Linked DNA regions of Homo sapiens: regions 1 and 3 are each linked to region 2. The links are contacts of gene promoters, found by promoter capture Hi-C in human tissues and cell types (Jung and others, 2019). All regions are on one chromosome and are shown on one strand. The core of a region is centred on a gene start or on the middle of the fragment in contact, and the rest is flanking DNA. Distances in the headings are between cores, read along the strand shown.

Region 1 (4,421 bases), core at 962-3,461, 170 kb after region 2:
CTTTCTTTTTTTTTGGAGATGGGAGTCTTGCTCTGTCGCGAGGCTAGAGTGCAGTGGCGCGATCTTGGCTCACTGCAGCCTCCGCCTCCTGGGTTCAAGTGATTCTCCTGCCTCAGCCTCCCAAGTAATTGGGACTACAGGCTCATGCCACCATGCCCAGCTAATTTTTTTTTTAATTTTTAGTAGAGACGGGGCTTCACCATGTTGGCCAGTATGGTCTCGATCTCTTGACCTCGTGATCCATCCACCTTGGCCTCCCAAAAAGCTTCCATTCTTAGTCTTGGTACTTCTAAGTGGCATTGGGTCAATAGCTTTCTGCCTAAGAAGAGAATTGGCTGGGCATGATGGCTAACACCTGTAATTCCAGCCCTTTGGGAGGCTGTGGCAGGAGGATCATTTGAGCCCAGGAGTTCAAGACCAGCCGGGGCATCATAGGAAGACCCCATGTCTGCATAAAATAAAATAAATTAGCCAGACTTGGTGACATGCACGTATTGTCCCAGCTTGTCAGGAAGCTGAGGTGGGATGATTGCTTGAGCTCAGGAGATCAAGGCTACAATGAGCTATGATCATACAACACCAGTGCACTCTAGCCTGAGTGACAGAGCAAGACCCTGTCTCAAAAAAAGCAGGGGGGCATAGTCACCTCCCTAAAATATTAGTTGAACAGTATGTATTCAGAAGTCCAGAGGCTCTGTATTTTATTAATATTTTCAAGGCACTATTTCTGCAGAAATCAAGTCAGCAAGACTCTTTGAGGACGTTACAGGCAGAGGGGCTAAAGATACCTTTGAGGAAGCTCAAGTACTTGGGTGGGAGGTGATAGATAAAGGGTCAGTAGAAATAATGTCTCTTTTTATTTTTTTTCCCATTAAAAAATTTTGTTTTAATAGCAATGGAGATGGGGTCTCACTGTGTTCCCTGAGCTGGTCTGGTCTCGAGCTCCTGGGTTCAAGCAGTTCTCCCACCTTGACCTTCTAAAGTGTAGGGATTATAGACATGAGCCACCATGCGTGGCAAATTTCTTTTCTTTCCTTTTTTTTTTTTTTTTTTTGAGACAGAGTTTTGCTCTTGTTGCCCAGGCTGGAGTGTGGTGGCACGATCTTGGTTCACTGCACCCTCCACCTCCCAGGTTCAGGTGATTCTCTTGCCTCAGCCTCCTGAGTAGCTGGGATTACAGGCGCCCGCCACCATGCCCGGGTAATTTTTGTATTTTTAGTAGAGATGGGATTTCACCATGTTGGCCAGGCTGGTCTTGAACTCCTGACCTCAGGTGATCCACCCGCCTCAGCCTCCCAAAGTGCTGGGATTACAGGTGTGAGCCACCGCTGCCGGTTCCAATGTCTCTTTTGGATGGTGGATCCTGAAGAATAGCTGCTGGTTCTTTGGGGATGCCTGGGGAATACTGTGCAGGCTTTGTGATGGGCTCAGCAGTGAGGCCTGTACAGTATCTTAGGTCTTGTGGGCCTCAGTCTGCTCTCTTGGCTGTTCTCTACCACCTCCTGCCATTAAGTTTTTAAGAAAAAGGAATAGTTTTATTATATTCTTTGGTAAACAAAGCAAATTAAGAAGCTTTATATTTTCCACATTTATTTACCAAACTCCCTATTTGTTTTTCTCTATAGTGATTCAGTTTAGAGACCTATTCAATGAAGCATGCCTTGATGTTGAATTTAGAGTCTACTTTTTCCAGAAGAAAAGAGCCAGGGAGCTCCAATAGTAGTCATCTCAGAATATAAAAGTGTTATAGAAATGATGTAAATCAGGCCGGGTACAGGGGCTCACGCCTGTAATCCCAGCACTTTGGGAGGCCGAGGCGGGCGGATCATGAGGTCCGGAGATCGAGAACATCCTGGCTAACAGGGTGAAACCCCGTCTCTACTAAAAATACAAAAAAAATCAGCCAGGTGTGGTGGCCGGCACCTGTAGTCCCAACTACTCAGGAGGCTGAGACAGGAGAATGGCGTGAACCCAGGAGGAAGAGCTTGCAGTGAGCCGAGATCGCGCCACTGCACTCCAGCCTAGGCAACAGAGCAAGACTCCGTCCCCAAAAAAAGAAGAAAAAGAAGAAAAGAAATGATGTAAATCAGCTGCCCTTCACTCTGTGTTGAGGTGGGGGATGTCCCTAATTGCAGTAGGAGAGAGCCTCTCTTTTATCTGGGACTAAAAGCCCTTGCCCTACATACCTCATAATTATTTTAGGGTTAACTGATTCAATTGTCAGAAAAGAACAAGCTGTATCTTGTTTCTGTACATATTCTACTTTGTGAGTATTTTTATTTCATTGCTATGTGATTGGAATCAACTCAGGAAAGAGGAAAAAAATAAGATAGAGGTTATAGAATTCTGAATTCTGAAGGGAATTCTGAGAATTATCAGTAAAATATGTCAAAATGTGATATTTTACTTCCACCAAGAATTAGGCCATATCTTTGTGTGAAAATAAATTATTATTATTTATTTATTTATTTTGAGATGGAGTCTCGCTCTTTTCACCCAGGCTGGAGTGCAATCACACAATCTCGGCTCGCTGCAACCTCCACCTCCCAGGTTCAAGCGATGCTCCTGCCTCAGCCTCCCGAGTAGCTGGGATTAGAAGCGCCCATTACCACACCCAGCTAATTTTGTACTTGTAGTAGAGACAGGGTTTCACCATGTTGGCCAGGCTGGTCTCGAACTCCTGACCTCAGGTGATCCACCCCCCCCCCCCCCACCCTTGGTCTCCCAAAGTGCTGGGATTACAGGCATGGGCCACCGCACCCAGCATACGGAAATAAATTATTAACCAGAGAAATTTTGACTAAGGTTTTTATAAATGTTAGGTGAACCATTGCTCTAAAAGATACAAAATTATAACAAGCTGAAAAGTTTTTTAAAAATCTGCATTTTAGTGGTTCAGTTTTTCAGTTGTTCTGAGTGCTAATAGTTGGAGTTTATAAATTGTAAGAAGCAATCTACGGAGATTCTGTGATGAAGGAATTTGTTGAATGCCCTGTCTGCCTCACAGTCTCAGTCTTTATGATAGAGTCTTGTCTTCTCACAAGGAGAGAAAAGATTTGAGGCTCTTTTGATTACTTACTTACTTGCTTATTTATATATTTTGCCTCTTTGTTTTTGCCGCAAATACAAATGTAATGGAACCTTAGAATAGGAGAGACGTGTGGATCCCCTGGTAGGCACTGTTCTTTCTATGTTCCTGGAGCCAAGTTCATGGAATTACCTCCAAGACTACGGATCCCTGGTTTTCTTTCATCATGATAGGAGGCATTTTCTAGAACCTGAATCTTACTTTAAAATGCATGTAAGACCTGCAAGGAGTGGTAGTGAAGTGGGTGGAATATATTCTTAGCACCAGACACCTTTAAAATATTTAAGTTCTCGGCCGGGTGCCCTGGCTCACGCCTGTAATCCCAACACTTTGGGAGGCCGAGGTGGGCAGCTCACGAGGTCAGGAGACCGAGACCATCCTGGCTAACACGGTGAAACCCCATCTCTACTAAAAATACAAAAAATTAGCCAGGCGTGGTGATGGGTGCCTGTAGTCCCAGCTACTCGGGAGGCTGAGGCAGGAAAATTGCATGAACCCGGGAGGCAGAGCTTGCAGTGAGCTGAGATCGCACCACTGCACTCCAGCCTGGGTGACAGAGCAAGGCTCCTTCTCAAAAAAAAAAAAAAAAAAAAAAAAAAATATATATATATATATATATATACACACACACACACACACACACACGTGTGTATATATATACACACACACATGCATATATATATACACACACATGTATATCTATAGATATATACATATATATGTGTATATTTACATTTTCTTATGTCAGGGTCTGGCTTGGAGTGTATTGTGTTCCCAGAGCAGAATTCTTTTTTTTTTTTTTGAGATTGGGTCTTACTTTGTCACCCAGGCTGGAATGCAATGGCGTGAGCTTGGCTCACTGCAGCCTCGACCTCACAGGTTCAAGCAACCCTCCCACCTCAGCCCCTGGAGTAGTTAGGATAACAGGCGCACACTACCATTTTGTATTTTTTGTAGAGGCGGGGTTTTATCACATTGCCCAGGCTGGTCTCGAACTCCTGAGCTCAAGCAATCCACCTGCCTTGACCTCCCCAAATGCTGGGGTTACAGGCGTGAGCCACTGTGCCCAGCCGCAGAGTTCATCTTGAGACCCTGACTTCTGCCAGCTCTGATCCTAGTGGGTGGGGCTCTGGGGCTCAGTGAAACAGTCAGCCGTTTTGCTTCAGAGAACACAAATAAGATTTTGGCTTGATGCTGGTTGTTGCTGGCGTCATATAGTCTAAAACGTTTGCTGTCAAGAACATTTTAGTAAAAGTTTTTGTTGTGCTTTCATCTAGTCAAGAAAAGATAGGAAGTGGCAGCTGACAGGGCAGTGTCTTCATGCCCCTCAACC
Region 2 (4,273 bases), core at 1,202-3,701:
AAGGCCAGCTGTCTCCTCCCAAGCACTTGGGGTCCAAATCTCTGAACCCCTGAAGGAGAATCCACTGGAGGCTCTGCTTCCCTGTGGGTGGAGGAGGGGAAATGCAGAGGAAGGCACTAGAGTAAAGGGTTGCTATGGTGATGGAAGTTTTAAAACAAGGGGAGGGGGAGGGGAGATGTGTTGGTCAGGTCCCTTCTTCAAGAATTTCCTGAGACCTTAGCCTGGCTGCTTCTTCAAGGTTCTGTGACCCAGGTCCCCATCAAGAAAGGGGAGGTGGGGAGATGGAGAGAATTTAGAAAAAAGAGAATGGGGCAGAGACACAGACAAAGACAGAACCTGTGATGGAAGAGGAGCAAGGAGATGACAAAGTAAAAGGGACACAGGCACAAAGGGCAGGAAAGGGGAGGTGGACGGGAGTTCTGAAGGGGGCGGATGGGTGCCCAGCAGAGCCCTAAGGCCTCCATGGCGATGTGCTCTAAATCCCTGGGCCAGGAGCTATCCATGGTACTGGGACCTTCGAGACTGCACCCTCCTGTATCCCCCAAACATACACTGAACTTGGTGTAGGAGGCACAGCCAAAAGGAGGCCAGCTCCTTGGAGCATGTTGGTGGGGAAGAGGCCAGCTGCTGCAGCCCCCCAGTCAGGACAGTTCCCAGCCCGTCTCTCTGCCATCACGGCAGCTTAGGTAAAGCAGGTCCAACATGTTGAAGGCAGACGCATAGGGGTATGGAAATGAGGCTCGGATGCCTGGCTGCTTCCCTTTATAGTCCCTCTTCTCAGTTGGCCCAGCTGTACTTAGACCCTCCCAGCCAACCCCTCCCCCATCTGCTATCCTTTCCAGGCTTTGGGTCCCCAGAGCCCCTCTTACAGCTCTGCTTAATCCCCTCTCACCAACCCCCAACAGCAGATCCTGCCATGAGTGCCAGAAACGGCACCACAAGCAACCCAGAAACAGGATAACCACACAGCCCTTCACCTCCCCATGCCTCAGTTTCCCCTAATGGAAACCATGGAATCTGGCCTTCTCCCAGGGCAGAGGACTGCTTGCCTGCCTGTGAATGGTGGCCAGGGCATGGGGCTGGAGAGTAGGGCCATCAGAGATATGTGAACAGCCAGCCTAGGAGAGCACCTGAAGGGTCCACACCAAATATTAGAAAAGGGAGACCCTTGCCCCACCCTGGAAACCAACCTGACTCTGAGTGGAGACACCAGTTCCCCAGTTGAGGAAACTGAGGCTCAGAAGTCGCTGGAGCTGCCAGGAATCAACTCTGAGGGTGGGGGAGGGCACCAGGTCTCTAAAGGTAGTCCTGGGGGCTCAAAGCCTGGACTTGGGGGTAAGGGGAGTACAGCACAGGGACTGGACTACTGCAGACTCTGAGCTTTTAGTGTGGGACAGAGGGCCCTGATCCTTAGGAAGGAACCTGGTGGAGCAGGATCTGCCTGGGAGGTGCGGACAAAAGCAATTTGGCAGAGCTATGCGGGGAGGGGGCTGGGGCTCAAGAGCCCAGGGTCTCTGCCAAACAGTACAAGCTGGGGAAGGCAGAAGCTCATGCTGTCACTATCCCAGCCACCTCCAGCCAGGGGCCCTGCTCCCCACCGTGCTGCCACCCTGACCCCTTTCCCAAGTGCTGCTGGCTCGCCCCCGCTGGCACAGCAACACACATGCGGAAAGCACACGTGTGAGCACCAAGCCCCGCACCTCCCAGCAGGAACATGTGCGCCCCCACCCCCACCGTGCACGTGGGTCCATGCACTGGACCCCCAGCTGGCACCCAGGTGAAGGCTTGGAAGCTGAATTTTGGCTGGGGGGCTGCTGGTCCCCAGGGGCTTGGAGCTTCCTCCCCCACCCCGCGGCAGCCCCGCCCAGCCCCCTCCGGGTTGTCGCCCATAAAGAACTCTCCGTTGTCATGGAAATTAGTGACTGCTAAGCGGGAGGGAAGGGGCCCGGGGACAGTTGGGAGGGGCTGGAGGCGGCTCTGGGAACGGGGAGGGACGGCTCAGCTCTCGGCCCCTATCCTCACGGGGGACCACGAATCTTCGAGGGTTAATCTTTTCACAATTCCGAGCCGCAGAAGCTTCCCCCCAGAACCCCCAAGCCGTCCGAGGTAATGGGGAACTTTAGCCCGACCCCGCACTCCCTCCCCCAAATCTGCAAAGCCCGCGCGCTCTGACCCCGCCAGGACCTCGAGCCCTCGCTGCGCCCCCGCGCACTCTGCATCCCGCACCTCGAGCCAGGGAAACAATCCCCCAAGGCCCCACAACCTGCGTTCGGGAAGCGCCCCCAGCCCGGCCCGCCCCGCACCTGCAGCGCCGGTTGGTCACAGGGAGGAAGTGATCGCGGGCTCAGCGGGGCGCCGAGGGCTCCGGGGACGGCGGGCAGAATCCGCTCCGAGCACGCGGGGCAGACGCGGCGCCAGATGCAGCCGCTTCGGCTAGCGAACCTCCAGCATCGCCAGCCGCTTGCCGGCACCGGATTCGCACCCCGGGCCGGGGGCGGGCTGGGGGCGGGGCCTCCCAACCGGCCCCGCCCCGACCCTGGCGGAGCCTTAAGGGCAGAATCCCACTGGAGAGCAGGAGCGCGCGGGATGGCAGCGGTGCTGGTGAGCACTGGCCTGCTTAGCCCTGGCCAAGGTTCTCAATGGCTCCCTTAGGCCCTCAGCCTGGGGCCGGAGGAGGCCTCCTATGCCCAATGTAAGGGGTGGTGAGTGGAGAGTTGGGGGAAAGCCTGAGTCCTGGAGCTGCATAGGATCGCTTGCCAGTCATTAGTCTCTAGGGAACGGGGCTTTGCCCAGCTCCCCGAACCCGACCCAAAAGGCAGGACCAACTTAGAAAAACCAGATGGGCAGTCGGGCTAGGGCAGGCTCCCCTAGCTAGGAGCAGTAAACACACAGAGGTGTGTGTTTGCAGGTAGTCAGTGTGGCATCCCCTAGCATCCCCTAGCTACGCATCCCCTAGCTAGGAGCAGTAAACACACAGAGGTGTGTGTTTGCAGGTAGTCAGTGTGAAAACAGTGAGGGCCCTAGACTGTAGTAGCAAAGTCTCCTATCCCACCCCATCCCCAACTCCTGCAAGGCCAGAGTCTTTCCCAAACATAAGTACCAGCAAGGGTGGCAGCACAGTCAGCCCCTTCCTGTGTGGCACCAAATTTCCCAAACTATAAAAGTCACCTGTGACATGGTGTGGCCTCTGCTTTCTTTTCAGTCTAATCACTGTCAAACACTTCATGAGTTGTATCACTCTAGTGGCCTGGCCTGGGATATGGGGACACAGGAGAACTGTGGCACCAAGGTATCCCACCTGGCCTGGGTGCTAATCAGAGGGAGGAGGCTCAGAACCACCAGGAGGAAGCTTTAAAGGAAGTCCTTGGCCATTTCTCTGTCCCTTGTCAGTGAGGCTCACGGACCCAAAGCCTGACCCACACCCCTCACAAGCCCTGAGGACCATCCTAAGGCCAGTATCTGAAGACCAGACTCAGGCCTCTCAGTGTCTGGAGCTGGGTTTTATCCCACCTCACTCCTCCCAGTGAGCCTCCTGACCCTGCTGTGGGAGAGGGAGTTGGGGTCATCCCCAAACCCTCAGCCATCTTGAGGCTGCCCTGGCCACCCATGGCTGATGACAGGAGGGACTGTCCAAGTCCAGAAGCTGGGGCTGGGGCTCAGACTGAAGGCTAGCTTAGGAAATGACCGCCTCAAACAAGGTTCCTCAAAATTTTCCTCCAGAGGGGGTACTGAGCCCTTCACCTTCCTCCCTGGCTTGGTGTTACCTCCTCTAGGCCAGGCTGGTGCCACTTCTGGGGTCCCTGGGCTCTGAGTGGTCTCGGGTTATGGGACCCACCCCACCACTGGGTAGGAATCTCCTGGCAGGCTGGGTATCTGCAAGGCAGAACCCGTTTCTCATCTCAGTATGCTCGGCTGATGTCTGCAGAATGAATGAATGGCCTGGCACTGAGTCCTTCCTGCCATCTGCCCACTATTCTTGAAACAATGGGTCTCTGAGTTTTATGGTGTAGCCAAGCTGTAGCTTGCTGACCCCACACATGCCACATACATGTTTTCTGTCTTTCCTGAGGGTCATGGCTATCCAGGCATGGGGGTCAATGAGAAGCTGGAATGGGGATTTTTAGGCAGGGGAAGGGGTGGCTCCTTAGCGCCCTGCCTGCTGCTGGCAGTACTCCACCTCTTCTTGGTCCTAAGCACGCTCTGTGCATGTGGGTGAGAGCACGTGGCAGGGTGTGTGTGCACACGTGTACGTGTTGTGTATGCTCTCTTTTGC
Region 3 (4,193 bases), core at 1,576-4,075, 140 kb after region 2:
AAAAAAAAAAAAAAAAAGTTTTTTTAGGGTTCCAGCACAATGGGAATGAGTCCAGATCTAAAATAAAGTACAGATTCATTTACCACCCTCCACCCTACCCCAACCCCCCAAAAAGATTGTCTATCAGTTTGTCAGGAAGTTAGAGTAAAATGGTCTTAAAATGCATCAAGAGGGCTGGGCACAGTGGCTGATGCCTGTAGTTTCAGCTACTCAGGAGGCTGAGATAGGAGGATCACTTGAGCCCAGGAATTCGAGTGAGCCATGATTAGATCACTGCACTCTAGCCTGAATGACAGAGCAATACCTTGTCTCTTAAAAAAAAAAAGGCATGAAGAATTTTTTTGCTAATGGTATCTACTTACCACAGAGGAACATTTAAGCTAAACATCTGAAAGATTATGGATGGAGTTGGTAACAGGCTCCATTTGAACTGGTTATGTAGTTTATGCTCAGTAAGGTTGAACGGACTTTCTGCTTTGAGTTATTCACAGTTAAAAATAAAGGACTATTTTGAAGTAGACCGAAAATGAAAATAACATTAAGAAATCCTTGGACTAATTTTTAGGGGAGATTCCTGTAATCGGATGGTTTGTAGTTGTCAATGTAGACCTTTCCTGGTTTCCTGAAATTGCTAATCAAAGCTCAAAGCCATGGGAAAAGACTGGATTGCAGCTAGAATGTGTGCTCTCCACATATGTCTTTCTTAGAGGCCTCTTTCAAGCAGCATTGACACTATGGCTATCATCTTTGACCCTCTTAGTATACAGAGAGTTGTAGGTTTTCTTTTTTTAAGGGGGAAAACATTATTGACATAAATTATATATCATAAAAGTCACTCATTTTAACTGTACAATTCAATGATTTTTTAGTAAATTTACCAAGTTGTAACATTTATTATTATAATTAGTTTTACAACATTTTTCTTTTCTTTCTTTTTTTTTTTTTCTTTTTCTTTTTTTCTGGGACACAGGATCTTGCTCTGTTGCCCAAGCTGAGTGCAGTGGCATGACCATGGCTCACTGCAGCCTCCACCTCCCGGGCTCAAGCAATTCTCCCACCTCAACCTCCTGAGTAGCTGGAACTATAAGTTGGAACCATCGTGCCCAGCTAATTTTTTATTTTTTGTAGAGAGAAGGTCTTGCTATATTGTCCAGGTTGGTCTTGAACTTCTAAACTCAAGCAATCCTTCCTGCCTCACCTTCCCAAAGTGCTGGGATTACAGGTGTGAACCATCATGCCTGGTCTAGAACATTTTCATTACCTCAATCGGATCCCCGTTTGGGGATACATTTACATTTTTAATTTTTTAATTTTTATTTTTTTTAGAGACGAGGTCTCAATCTATTGCCAAGGTGGTCTTGAACTCCTGGTTTCAAGTGATCCTCCCACCTTGGTTTCCCGAAGTGCTGGGATTACAGGCATGAACCACCATGCCCAGTCCATTCCAATTTTTTTTTTCTTTTTTTTTGAGATAGAGCCTCACTCTGTCGCCCAGGCTGGAGTGCAGTGGCGTGATCTCAGCTCACTGCAACCTCCACCTCCCGGGTTCACGCCATTCTCCTGCCTCAGCCTCCCGAGTAGCTGGGACTACAGGTGCCTGCCACCACGCCCGGCTAAGTTTTTGTATTTGTAGTAGAGACGGGGTTTCACCGTGTTAGCCAGGATGGTCTCAATCTCCTGACCCTGTGATCCGCCCGTCTCAGCCTCCCAAAGTGCTGAGATTACAGGCGTGAGCCACCGTGCCTGGCCCATTCCAATTTTTTACAAAAGTGATTTCAGACTTATAAAAAAGCTGCAAAAATTCCTGTGTTCTTTTCACCTAGATTCTACCTTTTTTTTTTTTTTTTTTTTTGAGGCGGAGTTTTGCTCTTGTTTCCCAGGCTGGAGTGCAATGGCGCAATCTCGGCTCACCACAACCTCCCCGTCCCGGGTTCAAGCAATTCTCCTGCCTCAGCCTCCCAAGTAATTGGGATTACAGCCATGCGCCACCACGCCTGGCTAATTTTATATTTTTTAGTGGAGACCAGGTTCCTCCATGTTGGTCAGGCTGGTATTGAACTCCCGACCTCAGGTGATCTGACCACCTGGGCCTCCTAAAGTGCTGGGATTACAGGCGTGAGCCACCGTGCCAGGCCCACCCAGATTCTTCTTAGCACATTTGAATGCAGATTTTTGAATAGTTATGATCTATTCTCATTGAAAAAGGGACATCATTTGACTTGACCTCCCACCAGACTCTTCCTTTGAGGTTGGATGGAGGTGCTTAATGGATGCTGTGGATGGTGTGTGAATTTCCATTGGGTTGAGTGGATGATGTATGTGGAAGGCGATTGGGATTTACTTTGTCGGTGTCTCCAAGAGGTCCCCCACTGGGCTTTGTCAGGTGCTGGGGTTGGAGGTCAAGAAGTAGGGCAACATCTAAAGCTTCTACTCCTGGGCACTGTGAGGTTTTTATAGGTCTTTTAAAAAAAACAGTGAATAGGCCGAACGCGGTGGCTCACACCTGTAATCCCAGCACTTTCAGAGGCCGAGGGAGGCGGATCACGAGGTCAAGAGATCAAGACCATCCTGGCCTCGTGGTGAAACCCCATCTCTACTAAAAATACAAAAATTAGCTGGGCATGGTGGCACATGTCTGTAGTCCCAGCTACTCGGGAGGCTGGAGCAGGATAATCGCTTGAACCCTGGAGGTGGAGGTTGCAGTGAGCCCAGATTTCACCACTGCACTCCAGCCTGGCGACAGCGAGGCTCTGTCTCAAAAATATGTTCTTCCATGAGACAGCGGGCATTTGGATGCCTGATACAAAAAGAGGAGGGACTATGTGCTAGTCAGCTTTAGACTGAGAAGCAGCAGCAACCATGGCAAAGGGGAAGCAAACTTTCCTGAGTGGCCTTAATAATGTTATTCGTCAGGCAGTGGCTCTTAAACAGGGGCTTCAAGCAGTGATTTTTGACATGCTCTTCTCCTCCCCAACCACTGGACATTTGGCAATGTCTGGAGACATTTTTGGTTGTCACCACTGGGAGAGGGTGCTACTGGTATCTAGTGAATAGAGCCAGGGATGCTGCTAAACATCCTACAGTGCAAAGGGCAGCTCTCCACACAAAGAATCATCTGGCCCAAAAATCTCTATTGCTGAGGTTGAAAAATACTGGTGTAAGGAGACAAGAGTTGTGGTTAGTCAGAAAGGATGACCTGGCTTGCCGTGGATTGTCTTATAATAATCAGTTATCTCTTTCCTTGCCTTATTCCTGGTCCCAACAGAGTGAGGATTGGCAAGGGGGTTTGGGAATATAGTGGGAATGCTGTGTAGTGAGAGTGCAGGCACGGCACTCCAGACTACCAGTCACGAGCTTAGCCTGTGTCCTTGGGGTAGGAGCTGTAGAATAAGACCTATTTTGATATGTGGACCAGAATAAGTTCTTTAAATAATCAAAGGTAATAAACATTCTTAAAATATACTATCACTAAGGTAGTCTGTCATCCAGCAGAATGAGGGAGTAGTCAGAAGATTACACATATTTGGCAGCAATTACTAGAAAAAACAAACAAGTTGAGAGTTTTCAAAATAGATGTTACTTCATATTTCAGATAGTTTTCCAGGGAATATTGAAAATGCAAGTGCAGATTTTCACATCCTTCTTTATACTGATTAAAACATTTGAATCTATTGGATCATCTTTTCATTAGGCTTTACTTCACAGGGCCATCTACTGGATCCTGTATGCTGATATAGTTAAGGGGACTGACCTCAAAGTAAAAGATGCATATATTTTATCTTAATACAATATCACTTTGCTGTGAAGGGGAGCTGCTGTGTATATAGAATGCTGTGTAATAGTGATTGGGCTGTTGGGAATCACATTGGAAATATCAGTAAGCAACTCATTTTAACTTTTGTTAACACAGTTAAGTGCTGAGCACCTCTTGTGTTTGAAGCTCTGTGCTAGGTAATATGTGTTCATTAATGAATGAAAAAACAATACAAAAATTAGCCAGGCATGGTGGCGTACACCTGCAGTCCCAGCTACTCAGGAGGCTGAGGCACAAGAATTGCTTGAACCCAGAAGGTGGAGGTTGCGGTGAGCCGAGATCACGCCACTGTACTCCAGCCTGGCCAACAGAGTGAGACTGTCTCAAAAAAAAAAAAAAAAAAAAAAAAAGTTTTTTATTTTTAAATTTTTTGTTTTAT

What was found. The method cuts DNA at HindIII sites, captures the fragments that hold promoters and counts their contacts. A contact is called where the count stands out against the background at its distance.
Region 1: a fragment that was not itself captured here is called in contact with the fragment with the promoter of CAMKV in region 2 in 2 of the 25 tissues and cell types used here (IMR-90 fibroblasts and lymphoblastoid cells).
Region 3: a contact is called between a fragment that was not itself captured here and the fragment with the promoter of CAMKV in region 2, in 1 of the 25 tissues and cell types used here (mesenchymal stem cells).

Annotation. Positions count from the first base shown.
Region 1 is chr3:50,036,785-50,041,205 of GRCh38, forward strand. The region is part of intron 6 of RBM6 (RNA binding motif protein 6); the gene reads left to right. Among named protein-coding and RNA genes, the nearest start is that of RBM5, 50 kb to the right of the region's middle. The HindIII fragment of the contact is 5,977 bases long and covers 1-4,421 here.
Region 2 is chr3:49,867,455-49,871,727 of GRCh38, forward strand. CAMKV (CaM kinase like vesicle associated) reads right to left here and starts at 2,452. Exons shown (of 11, transcript NM_024046.5): 1 at 2,304-2,452. RefSeq lists enhancers at 272-1,204, 1,205-2,136. The HindIII fragment of the contact is 8,966 bases long and covers 931-4,273 here.
Region 3 is chr3:50,010,908-50,015,100 of GRCh38, forward strand. The region is part of intron 6 of RBM6 (RNA binding motif protein 6); the gene reads left to right. Among named protein-coding and RNA genes, the nearest start is that of RBM6, 73 kb to the left of the region's middle. RefSeq lists an enhancer at 1,918-2,586. The HindIII fragment of the contact is 3,634 bases long and covers 1,009-4,193 here.